2 separate regions of the Homo sapiens genome follow, and region 1 is linked to region 2. Evidence: promoter capture Hi-C in human tissues and cell types (Jung and others, 2019). All regions are on one chromosome and are shown on one strand. The core of a region is centred on a gene start or on the middle of the fragment in contact, and the rest is flanking DNA. Distances in the headings are between cores, read along the strand shown.

Region 1 (6,671 bases), core at 1,030-3,529, 440 kb after region 2:
AACACTTTGTGTTCTGTCTTTATAAACTCAACCTTAGGTAGGTTTTTGATACCAGGTATATTTCAAGATTTCAGAATACGTGCGTGTGTGTGTATATGTAAGGAAAAAGACAGAGAGAACATCTTATGTTCTCAAATCTTGAATCATAGCTGGTATAATTATACCTGGTATATATGTACACACACATGCACATATCTAGATGTGTACATGTGTGTATATGCACACATATATAATGTATGCACATACATTATATATTTATATATATATTTTTTACTTTATCTTTTGCCTTATTTCAGAACTTATCTATACTGGACAAAAAGGTCTTACATTTAAATTTCATGAGCCAAACCAAAATTTTAGAAACAAGCTTCTTATCGTTTGTTTCCTATAACATAAATAATAGAGAAGAGTCTTATCTCTTTAGTGGGTCCTCTGTAATTACTATTAATACAATAACAGCCTGAATAAGTATTAATTGCTTGGGTAGATCAATTGACCCAAAGACCCAAGTGACGCACATTTTTGAAGGTTCCCAGGGGTATTATATACATAGAAATATGCAATCAACTTTCCAATTATTTCATATTTGTATTATTTTCTACAGATGTTTTGAGAGCACCTTCCATGTATAGCTTACAGAGTAAGAATACCAAAAAAACAGCATAGTCTTGGAGCTAACATTTTTACACTGTATCATAGTTATTTGTGTCTTAGGTGAAGGGACTGTGTCTTCCTTGTTTTTTTAGCCTCAGACTCCCAAAGAAAGCCCAACACACAGACACAGAAATGAGTACGTGCATAACTCTTGACCTTACAGTGCAGTCCAATAGGCAAGAGGAATACATATGAAAAGCAATTACTTCGCTTTAACAGTAATACTAGTGGTAGAAAGCCATTTACCCAATCTCTTGCCCCCAACTCCAACCATCAGAAGAGTGCAAGTGTCTATTTCACACATTACATGAAGAACAAAAGAAAAAAAAGACACAAAGAAAAATAGAGAAAGTCTCATAAGCTTGTTTTTGGACCATGTCAAAATGCTCCCATGTCTGAGTCACATTGCCATGCCTAAACAATGTTCTTAAAAGAGTGGAGACATTTTTTAAAACCATCAATTATTACTATTTATTATGTATACCTAGAAAATAAAGGGCTTTCTTAAATCTACTTTAGCAAGCACAGTTCTTCTTAAGTCTGGAACAATTTTTCAACAGAATTCTGTTATCCTATATCCAGAGTTATCAGATTCTGGGCCATGAGAGCAGAAGCTATCTGAAAACCAGTACAATAAGCACTAAAAAATTAGCGAATACATTTTGACCATGAGGATGAAACAGAAAGGTAATGAAATGTGAAAATATGGATTTTACTGGCTGATATTTAGTATTTAACAACACTATCCCATATTGACTAGCTGTTTTACCCTTGTCTGGATTTAAGAGGATAGATTAAATCAGCATCTTAAAAATGTATGCTTTATATGCAAATCAAGTATTTAATGTTGTTTGCATATCCATACTTATAAGCCAATATCCTTATTGTTTCTGTTAGCAATTTTTTCTTAACAAGTTCCTACACTTATTTGCTTATGACAACATGAAAACATTACATACCACTTATTTGCCTCCAGTCACATATGGTTTAACCAGGAAATGAGAAAAACACAATAGAAATCACTTTACAACAATTTTCTAGTCATTTTATTTAATAACTATTATTTGATTTAATCATGGTTATAAGAACTCTGGATTGTCAGTATACTGAAGGATTCATCATCAACCTGTTTTTTTCTCCCAAGAGAACATAGACAAACGATATTATTTAAATCCTTTATGTGTTTCCAGTAAGAGGGTTGTAACTTCTCCCTTCCCTTCCCTTCCCTTCCCGTCTCCTTCCTTCCTTCCTTCCTTCTTTCCTTCCTTCCTTCCTTCCTTCCTTCCTTCCTTCCTTCCTTCCTTCCTTCCTTCTTTCCTTCCTTCCTTCCTTCTTTCAAGACAGGATTGGGCTATGTTGCTCAGGATAGAGTGCATTGGCATGATCTCGGCTCACTGCAGCCTTGACCTCCTGGGCTCAAGCAATCCTTCCACCTCAGCCTCACGAGTAGCTGGGACCACAGGCGTGTGCCACATCCCTGGCTAATTTTTGTATTTTTTACAGAGACAGAGTCTCCCTATGTGGCCCAGGTTGGTCTTGATATCTTGGGTTCAAGCGATCCTCCTGCCTTGGCCTCCCAAATTGCTGGGATTACAGGCATGAGCCACTGTGCCCAGACTGCTCCTTTCTTTTTCACTCCAGAAAGCATATCAAACAAGGAAGGACTGAGAATCGTGCTGTTAAAAAGATACCCATGCATCCCATTTATTCTTCATTACAAAGTTCTTGTGATAGGCCTCAAAATGGATCAAGACATGCTGCTGAGAACCACTGCACTAGAATACGCATTCGCGCTCATGGAGCAAGGGTTGTGGGAAGGGGTTGAAAAAGGGCAAGGACTTACATCTCCGTTCTTAGGTGGAATAGTCAACTCCATGTACCCATGAGGAATGTACTGCTGACTGTAATCAAAGCGAGGTTTCTTCATCAGGTGAGATCTGACAGTTGAATAGGCTCCATCACATCCTACAATGAGGTCACAAGTGACATCTTTGGGAACTTTGTCAGATCTGAAAAATAGAACAAAACATCCAAAAGAAAAATATGTCTAGTGGTGAAAATGATGATGTACCTCTGGGTATGAGAAGTAGTGGCTCCATAGATAACTTAGAAAGCTCACTTTCACATGTTTGACTTGGAGCTTTGAGTTAATAGATGTAACATTTAGATGAAAACACTTGTCCCAGTCATAAGTTTGCTTATGAGAATAGCACAACACCATATTGATTAATAAAGACTTGGTAGGCCACAGAAGTGTGACAGGATTTGAGATTTCTGCATGAAGGAGGAGAATCTTGAAAACAGGGCAAGTGTTCCAAGTGTACGAATGAATGTATGAACAACCACAGGATTTTCTAAGAACAATACATTTGTCTTGAGCACAGGTATTAGAAGAAAAGCTTAAGAAAAGAATACAAGGTAGGGAGAGAAAGGAAGGGGAAAAGAAGAGAATCTTGAATGTCAAGATAAAAGATTTTAAAACATTATTCTGGCAAAAGGGAAACTGAAATTATCTATTAGGGGAATGATGTATGAAGAGTTGCAATTTAAGAAAACTTCCTTGGCAGTTTGAAGAGAAGGCCGAATGCCAAAGGGAGCAGAAAACAGGGATGAGGTGATGGCAACACATTATATTACATGTGCAGGAATGAGAGCCGGAAGTACTGTCCTGCAGCTAGAAGGAGGAAGACAGACTCTGAAGCCAGTAGAAAGTAGGATAGACTGGGGAGTGTTATAGATTTAATGGGAGAGGACAGGGGAAAGAACACATCATGAATGATTCAAATTATTCAGGCATTAGTTCTGGGGAAGTCAGGAATGGGATGTGATTTGGGAGAAGTAGGTGATCAAGGTTTTAGATATGTTTGAGATAATGGCAAGATGTTCCAGCAAGGATGTTTGATGAGAAGTTAACATAAATTGATTTGAGCTTCTATAAGGATTTAGAATGAAGAAAGAGGCTTGGACTGGAAATGTTCATCTTAGAGATGTGGTTGTTGAACCCATGAGCGTGGATCCATAGCATATCGCAAGAGTGGGATATGAGGCTTGGAACCTTAGAGGAAATAGAATCATCCAAGGAAAGGCAGAGAAATAGCACCTGGAAAGAGAACAGGAGGAGAGCAGTGGAGGGTCACGTATATTTGAGAGAGGAGAGAGTTTGAAGCACATTAGAGTCACCAGTGTGGAATACAGTACAGTAGGAAGGTGAGCAAGTGTGAGAATTAAGAATTATTGGCATTGGTGTTCAGATGGCCATCAGGGCCTATTTGCAATCTAAAATTCCTTGAATCTAGAAACTATTTGGATGATCCTTTCAATAATCTTTTAACTCTTTCAAAAGAGCCAAAGAACAAAGTTTGCAGATACAATTCTCCACTCCCAGCTTTCACCTCTGAAGTCCAAAACCTGACCCGTAGTTACCCAAGCACTGTGATCATTCCTTCCTCTGGATTACATTTCAACAGCCTGTGGTTAAAGTGCATTTTCACATTGGGGTATTTCTCAGCAGCTGAGGAAATGGAGAAAGAGGCAAACAGAAATGAAATCTCAATTCTTACTTCACTTAATCAAATTGAAATAGTAATTGTTTTCTGGGAACAGTATGGTAGAGAATTTTATTCATAACAATGTAAAAATAAGTTCACTTAAATGGTAATTTGACAACTGTTTGGTAACTATTTCAGTATAATTTGGTAGTAAAACAGATGAATAAAAATCAATTATCCTCATCTCAAAAAGAAAACATCCAACTGATTCCATTGTGCAAACTCTTGCATTGCTGTAATTATTAGCACCCTGGGAAAGAAGCAAGCATCACATATTTCAGAAGTCGCCTCTAATCCGAGGCTTTGTTGTGACTGGAAATATTCAGTCAAACTCCTTTCCTCATATTACGCATGTCTCTATATCTCTTTTTAGCTAGTTTTCTGGAATTCTGATTGAAGTTGTCACAAATAGAGATTGTTGATTTTAAATCTCTTTGAAATCAAACACTGGAATAGTTAGGGGGAAAATGAGTAAGAAGCTTTGAAACCTCTCAATAAACTGAAACAAATTATTTTCGTAATTTTCTGTTTTGCCTGCTAGCACTCTAGAGAATTGAGTGAATTTCAATTTATGAACTATTAATTATGCCCTTGTTACAACAGTAAAATGTGATTTTGTCCCTATTAATGCTCATGTATTCATCTATAAATATAGCCTATTTATTGTTCTTAAAGGTATAAATCAGAATACAGGTGTTAGAGCTGGAATAGACTTCAGAGATGATTTAGTTCAAAATCCTTCATCTTAAAAAAGGAGTAACTAAGATTCTGGAAGTAAAGGTAAAATGCCTGAGATCACACAAAGTGAAAAAATTAAGGACCAAACTCATCAAGTTGTACACATTAATTATGTACAGTTTTTATATGTCAAAAACGTAAATAAAAAGAATGTTGAATTTGAAAAAAATGGGGAAAATAAGGCAGGAGTTCTATTCCTGCCTGTACTTATCTCCTCTCTTCATCTCAATCTTGTCTTATTTTACTCTTTTTTGTTTCAGTTTGATTTGGGGTTTGAAGATTTTAACTTTCTTGCAAAATCTGAGAGACCCTAAACCAAAGAAATTCATCTATGTAGAAGAAGTAGTTTGGCAAATAACTTTGAAGTAATCAGAATTGACCTGATATACTAAGGATATATTTTAGAAACATAACATGTGTTTGTGAAAAAAACTTTTAAAAAATTATGTTTATTTTTTACATAAGTATATAGTATTTTGCATCCTAAATAATTTTTTGTAGAACGTTACTCCTGGGATATACTCCCTAAAAAAACTGTTCCATTGCCAAAGACTAGAGTAATGCTGAATACTCTGTCTTGGGCTATGCTGCCCTGGTGTCCAGCCACAGGTAGTGTTTGAGTACTTGGAGTGTGGCTATCCTAAATTGAGATGTGTTGCCTGTATGGGATTTTGGCAAATTAGAACAAGTATATATAAAAAGAATGACAGTGAATAACTTTCTGATATTGATTACATATTGAAATAATATTTTGGATATATTAGGTTAAAATATCTTTTTTTTTTTTTTGAGACAGAGTTTCACTCTTGTCGCCCAGGATGGAGTGCAATGGCATGATCTCAGCTCACTGCAGCCTCCGCCTCCAGGATTCCAGAGATTCTCCTGAGTAACTGGGATTACAGGCGCCCACCAACACGCCCAGCTAATTTTTATATTTTTAGTAGAGATAGGGTTTCACCATGTTCACCAGGCTGGTCTCCAACTCCTGGCCTCAGGTGATCCACCCCCTTCGGCCTCCCAAAGTGCTGGGATTACAGGTGTGAGCCACTGCGCCTGGCCTAGGTTAAAATATCTTATTAAACATAACACCACCTGCTGCTTTTTTTTTTTTTTAACATGGTTAGCATAAATTGGAAAAGTATACACGTGCCTGGTATTTGTGGCCACATGTTGGACTGTGCTGCTCTGGAAGATCCACAATGCAGACCAAGAATATAATAAAAGCCCTGAGAAGTACTATAAGAAAAAAGACTGAAAACTTGTTTGATGCAAGGTTTGTCAGACTTATTTGGCCACACATCCTTTGTCTGTTTGCTTTGGCTTAATAATTATTAACATCTCACAGAATAGCAGATGAACCGTGAAACAATCCCGCATGAAATGCCGACGTAGGGAAATCATGTAGCAACAATGTTTTCAGAGAGGAGTTTGTGCAGTTAGGGAGAAATGAGAATTTACAATTGATTAAATGTGTGGAATGAAAACCTCCCACATTTGATGCCTCGTAAAGAAAGAATGAACTTTATATGCCCAACAAAGTTTAAGAGTGAAGAGATTCAGCGTTCATTTTATTGATGTATTTATGGCATTTATGAAATTGTGTGCCATGCAGCACATTCCTAGTGAAAGACAATTTGGGGAACTTCTGGTGTGTACACCAAGATTGTACCTTTCCCATGTTTTAAGTTCCTTAGTATTAGCAGATGTTTTATATATAATATTGGAGGCAGA
Region 2 (6,291 bases), core at 749-3,248:
TGATGTTGGCCAAGCTGGTCTCAAACTCCTGACCTCAAGTGATCCGCCCACCTTGGTCTCCCAAAGTGCTGGGATTACAGGCATGAGCCACCATGCCCGGCAATAAGTGTCTTTTTTTAGTTCATCAGTTGACTGACGGCTAGCAGTCCCTGGGTAGCTTTGGATGGGGGCTGGTCGCCAGAAAGACAAAGGTGAGATTAGAGGGTTGGAATTTTTAGCCCCACCTCCAGCCTCTGGGGAGGGTAGAGGGGTTGAAAGTTAAATTGATTACCAGTGGCCAATGGTTTAATCAATCTTGCTTACATAATGAAGCCTCCGTAAAAACCCAAAAGGCCTAGGTTCTGCTAGCTGAACACGTGGAGGTTCCTGGAGGGTGGTATGCCCTTCCCCCATACCTCGCTATGCATCTCTTCATCTGTACCCTTTGTGATATCCTCTGTAATAAGCCGGTAAAAGTGTTTCCCTGAGTTCTGTGAGTCATTCTAGCCAATTAATGAAACCCAAGGCGGGGGCTGTGGGAAGCCTGACTTATGTCCCATAGATCAGAAGCACAGGGAAAACAAGCTAGGGGCTGGGCGCAGTGGCTCACGCATGAGATCCCAGCTCTTTGGGAGGCCAAGGCAGGAGGATCACAAGGTCAGGAGTTTCAGACCAGCCTAGCCAACATGGCGAAACCCCCTCTCTACTAAAAACACACAAATTAGCCAGGCATGGTGTCATGTGCCTGTAATCCCAGCTACTCGGGAGAAATCGCTTGAACTCAGGAGGCAGAGATTGCAGTGAGCTGAGATCGTGCCACTACATTCCAGCCTGGGCAACAGAGCAAGACTCTGTTTCAAACAAGCAAAAAAACAACAAACACAACTTGGGGCTTGCAATCGGCATTGAAAGTGGGGGACAGTCTTGTGGGACAGAGCCCTCAGCCCGATCTGATGCTGTCTCCAGGTAGACAGTGTCAGAGTTGGATTGGAGGACACCTAGCTGGTGTCCACTGTAGAAGTGATTGCTCGGTGTATGGGGAACCCCCACCCACCCACACACACACACACACATCTAGTGTCAAAAGTGATCTGTGTTGTGAGAATATAGGAGAAATGGAGTTTGGTTTCCCCTATGTATGACCAGAGACCCAGTTTCTTAACTCTAAAAGCAAGATCTTGGGGACAATTGTCCTTCCTTCCTTCTTTTATCCCAGAGAAAACTAAGTGACAGAATATACTGGAGTGTAGTACTTGGACTTCCTTGTAACAACTCTGGGTTTTTTTTGTTTTGTTTTGTTTTGTTTTGAGATGAAGTTTCGCTCTTGTTGCCGAGGCTGGAGTGCAATGGTGTGACCTGAGCTCACTACAACCTCCGCATCCTGGGTTCAAGCGATTCTCTTGCCTCAGCCTCCTGAGTAGGTGGGATTACAGGTGCCAGCCACCACGTCCGGCTAATTTTTGTATTTTTAGTAGAGATGGGGTTTCAGCATGTTGGCCAGGTGATCCACCCGCCTCGGCCTCCCACGTGCTGGGATTACAGGCGTGGGCCACTGCACCCAGTGTACAGCTCTAGGTTTTAATCCATACCGCTTCTCTTACTTGCTGTGTGCCCTCGAGCAAATCACTTCACCTTTCTTAGTATAGGTTTCCTTCTGTGATAAAGGGCATGGACCATTGTGAGAACTACACAGCACACTTCAGGCTGAGGTGGATCCAGCTTGGACCCCCCCTTGCTACTGAAGGGCAAAAACATCCCAGCACAAGGCAGTTTTACCTCTCCACAGTCCGCTGCCCAGCCAATGATTTTATTACAAACCCTAATTTCTTTTGCAAAGAAACATCTTGAACTGGTCATGAACAAAGTGGCTTTCTCTGACCAGCAAGCAGGTGGCGATTCCATTTCCATCAGAACTGACCTCCTGCTGCCCAGGGAGGGGGAGTGGGGAGAGGGGAGGGAGAGGAGAGGCCTGATGTCACTCAGCCCTACATAAGGGCCTCCTTCAGGCTCCTGCAGGCAGTTTGGAAGCAGCTGGAGGAATGAGTTAGGTTCCCGGTTGCGGGACAGTTTTTTTTTCTTTTTTAAAACAGACACAGCTACTGAGTGCAATGCCGCCTCCACAGAAAATCCCAAGCGTCAGACCCTTCAAGCAGAGGAAAAGCTTGGGTAAATTTCTTGGGGTAGCTTTCTGGGTTATCTAAAGAGAGGAGCGGATCTGGCCTTCTCTTGATCTTTGCTTCTTTTCTTGATCTTTGCTTCTTCTCTTGTGCTTGAAATATTCACAGCAATCAGACAAGAGGAAGTTGCTGGAATCCGGGCAAAGTTCCCCAACAAAATCCCGGTAAGACACCACTGGACTTCCGCTGGGGGGCGTGGGGGTGGGGTTCCGATCCTGTTCTCTGAAAAACCAAGAGCAGCCAACAGCTTCCCTCTGTCTGTTCCAAGTTCCTAACACTCACGCTGAGTCACATTCTTAAGGACTGACACTCTTGACAGGTGGTAGTGGAGCGCTACCCCAGGGAGACGTTCCTGCCCCCGCTGGACAAAACCAAGTTCCTGGTCCCGCAGGAGCTGACCATGACCCAGTTCCTCAGCATCATCCGGTAGGTGGCGCAGAGCGTGCCCCGGAGGAAGGTGCGCTGGGTGCGCCGGGGCTGTTGGGCTTTCTTCGTTTGGCAGTTTTATTTTGGGGATGGGGGCACGTCAGGGGAAGAGAGGAAAGAGATTTTTTTGAAGTCACCTTTTAGATTCACTAGTACCCTGAAAAGATGCTCTTAGAATTACTCTATTTTAAACCCCGGGCGGAGTGGCTCATGCCTGTAATCCCAGCACTCTGGGAGGCTGAGGCAGGTGGATCGCAGAGGTCAGGAGTTTGAGACCAGCCTGGCCAACGTGGTGAAACCCTGTCTCTACTAAAAATACAAAAATTAGCTAGGCGTGGTGGCGGGTGCCTGTAATCCTAGCTACTTGGGAGGCTGAGGCAGGAGAATCGCTTGAACCTGGGAGGCGGAGGTTACAGTGAGCCGAGACTGTTCCACTGCACTCCTGGGCAACAAGAGTGAAACTCTGTCTCAAAAAAAAAAAAAAAAAAAAAAGAATTACTCTATTTTAAACAGGTAAGGAGAATCCCTCAGACAACGACAACAACAAAAAAGACCTGCCAACATTTCTAAGAATTTCCTAAAGTAGTTAGTCTTGGCTCTCAAGCTAGGCCGGGAGATCCTTTCTTTCAGATCTTGTGTGAAACCGAGTCTGCGCGTCCGTTGCAGAGACCAGCACCTTTTCCAAGTGTATGTGTGCCTAGGGGTGGGGACTTCTCCCCAAAGGAAACGTTCCCTGCTCAGAACACTGAGAGAGAAAAGCATCCCCCAAACACACTCCTCCCTTGGTTAAGCCAGAGGTACAGCAAAGAACAGGCAGCTATTCTTAAAGCATAAAGGACATCACTTGACACATGGATTCAGTAAAAAATGATTTGGGAGTAAAGTAAATATACCCGATGAGTAAGTTTTCAACAGGGTTGAAAAGTGCTTGGAAGCTGCATCGCTGTTGCAGCCTGTTTTTTTGAGAACACACGATGAATGAGTGTCTTTTTATTTTGCTTTATTTAGCTCTGTCGCCTAGGCTGGAGTGCAGTGGTGTGAACCTAGTTCACTGCAGCCTTGGCCTTCTGGGCTCAGGCGATCCTCCCATCTCAGCCTCCTGAGTAGCTGGGACTACAGGAAAGCACCACCGTGCCCGGCTAATTTTAAAAATGTTCTGTAGAGATGGGGGTCTCACGATGTTGCCCAGGCCTCTTTTTATTTTGTTTTACTGAGTTAAGAGCATTCTGATTTCCTCTCTCTAGGCAAACTTACATGTTAAAGTTAGTTCAGTGTGAATGGAAGATGGCCAAGGGAGAATGAAAGTTAGGATTAGGGCCAGGCGCAGTGGCTCACACTGTAATCCCAGCACTTTGGGAAGCCAAGGCAGGGCAGATTACCTGAGGTCAGGAGTTCAAGAGCAGCCTGGCCAACATGGCAAAACCCCGTCTCTACTAAAAATACAAAAATTACCCAGGTGTGGTGTTGCGTGCCTGTCATCCCAGCTACTTGGGAGGTTGAGGCAGGGGAATCAAAAAAAAAAAGTGAAATATCAGCGAGACTGTGCATCACCTTTGTACTTCTAGGGAAATAGCTTTAATTTCTTTTCTTTTTTTTTTTTTTTTGAGACGCAGTCTTGCTCTGTCACCAGGCTGGAGTACAGTGGCGCAATTTCGGCTCACTGCAACCTCCGCCTCCTGGTTCTCCTGCCTCAGCCTCCCGAGTAGCTGGGACTACAGGTTCACGCCACCACACCCAGCTAATTTTTGTATTTTTAGTACAGACCAGGTTTCACCATGTTGGCCAGGATGGCCTCGATTTCTTGACCTCGTGAGCTGCCTGCCTCAGCTTCCCAAAGTGCTGGGATTAGAGGTGTGAGCCACTGCATCCAGCCCAATAGCTTTAATTTCATAGCAAATGGAAGTTATTTGCTTAGCATTTTTGTGTTGTCATGTTTCCTCAACCTGTTTGTGTTGTCATATTTCATCCATGGAATGGCCTCACCCTTTTGACCCAAATGGGAAGCCTTGTAGTTCCTAAATCTCAGGGAAGAAGAAGGGAGCAATTCAGTCTTCTTGAGTGTCATGAGGCTGCAGATCCCTGGGCTGTCTCGCAGGCCATACCCTCACCACCCTCCTGCCCATCCCAGGAGCCGCATGGTCCTGAGAGCCACGGAAGCCTTTTACTTGCTGGTGAACAACAAGAGCCTGGTCAGCATGAGCGCAACCATGGCAGAGATCTACAGAGACTACAAGGATGAGGATGGCTTCGTGTACATGACCTACGCCTCCCAGGAGACATTTGGCTGCCTGGAGTCAGCAGCCCCCAGGGATGGGAGCAGCCTTGAGGACAGACCCTGCAATCCTCTCTAGCCCATGTCGGGAAGGATGTGTGCTCTGACAGACGTGTCAGATGCTGGCAGAAGGGATTGGTTTTCTCCTGTGTATACAGTGGAGGAGTCTGAGAAGCAGGGATGCCTGGGGTGATCAGCTCCAACCAGTGGCAGCAGAGTGGTGGCTCTTCCTAGTTTAGTTTTTGTGCTCCGTGTTCTTGTGTCCTTCTAAGAAAAATGTGGGCTGCTCTTGAAAGTTATATAATTATCATTTTTTTTTTTTTGAAACAGGGTCTTGCTCTATTGCCTAGGCTGGAGCACAGTGGCATGATCTTGGCTCACTGCAACCTCCGCCTCCTGGGTTCAAGTGATTCTTCTGCCTCCACCCCCCGAGTGGCTGGTATTACAAGCACATGCCACCACACCAGGCTAATTTTTGTATTTTTAGTAGAGACGGGGTTTCACCATGTTGGCCAGGCTGGTCTCGAACTCCTGACCTCAGGTGATCCACCCACCTCGGCCTCCCAAAGTGCTGGGATTACAGGCGTGAGCCACTGCATCCAGCCATATAACCGTATTCTAAATAAGAAATGGTTGGCTTGTGTGATGGTTTTGTGTAATGAGCTAGAGATAATATTTTAAGTGTCTTCTGTGGTATATGTGGGAGGGCCATTAAGGAGTGGGTTTCACTCCCTGCATGTGGGCAGGTGTCCCATCTAGGGCTCGGTACTAGAGAATCTCTGGCCTGTAGGCTGTCTCTGTGGAACCCAGTGAAGCCAGCGTGAACAATGGTAAGCTCATCTGGAGGTGCTCTTATCTGTGTCATTAGAGAGATTATTCGATTTCCCCAGCATTCACTCTATTTAGTTATTTTCTGTCATTCTCTTTTTGTCTTTCTATACCATACATATTTATGCCAAAGCTGTAACTTCTCAACATGAAGTCATTTAAACCATGTGCATGTTTACTATGTGCCAAGCTGTATTCTAAAATAAATATTCTTTATTTTAAAGGAGCTTTATTCTTTGGCTTCTTATCACAACTCTCTATGGCTAACTACTGTTACAGTTAACCCACACAATGGGTGGGTTTGATCGCTTGGTGGGTGACGGTCCAATGACTACTCCCAAGGAGGATTTAAAAAGGGGATTTTATTAATTCTAACACGTAAGGAGGACACTGGGGATAGTTCCCAAAGCAGTGCCTCCCTGAACAAAAGTGAATGCAGGGCATTTATTGGGCAGAGGTGGAGTCAAGGAGTACAGGCGCAGTCACCGGCCATGCTTCCACATATGTTGCCTGTGTATAAAATAGTGAATAAGCTTCTCCCTAGGAGGAGATTTTTTTTCCCCCATTAATGAGCTTTCTATTATTATCTTTTTTTTTTTTTTTTTGAGA

What was found. The method cuts DNA at HindIII sites, captures the fragments that hold promoters and counts their contacts. A contact is called where the count stands out against the background at its distance.
Region 1: a contact is called between a fragment that was not itself captured here and the fragment with the promoter of MAP1LC3C in region 2, in 1 of the 25 tissues and cell types used here (spleen).

The regions. Positions count from the first base shown.
Region 1 is chr1:241,558,159-241,564,829 of GRCh38, reverse strand. It overlaps KMO (kynurenine 3-monooxygenase), which reads right to left. Exons shown (of 15, transcript NM_003679.5): 6 at 4,078-4,165; 7 at 2,498-2,663. Among named protein-coding and RNA genes, the nearest start is that of KMO, 29 kb to the right of the region's middle. The HindIII fragment of the contact is 3,176 bases long and covers 692-3,867 here.
Region 2 is chr1:241,994,805-242,001,095 of GRCh38, reverse strand. MAP1LC3C (microtubule associated protein 1 light chain 3 gamma) reads left to right here and starts at 1,998. Exons shown (of 4, transcript NM_001004343.3): 1 at 1,998-2,145; 2 at 2,265-2,320; 3 at 2,476-2,582; 4 at 4,711-5,606. The coding sequence starts at 2,088. The coding sequence ends at 4,933. RefSeq lists an enhancer at 1,488-2,013. The HindIII fragment of the contact is 15,931 bases long and covers 1-4,178 here.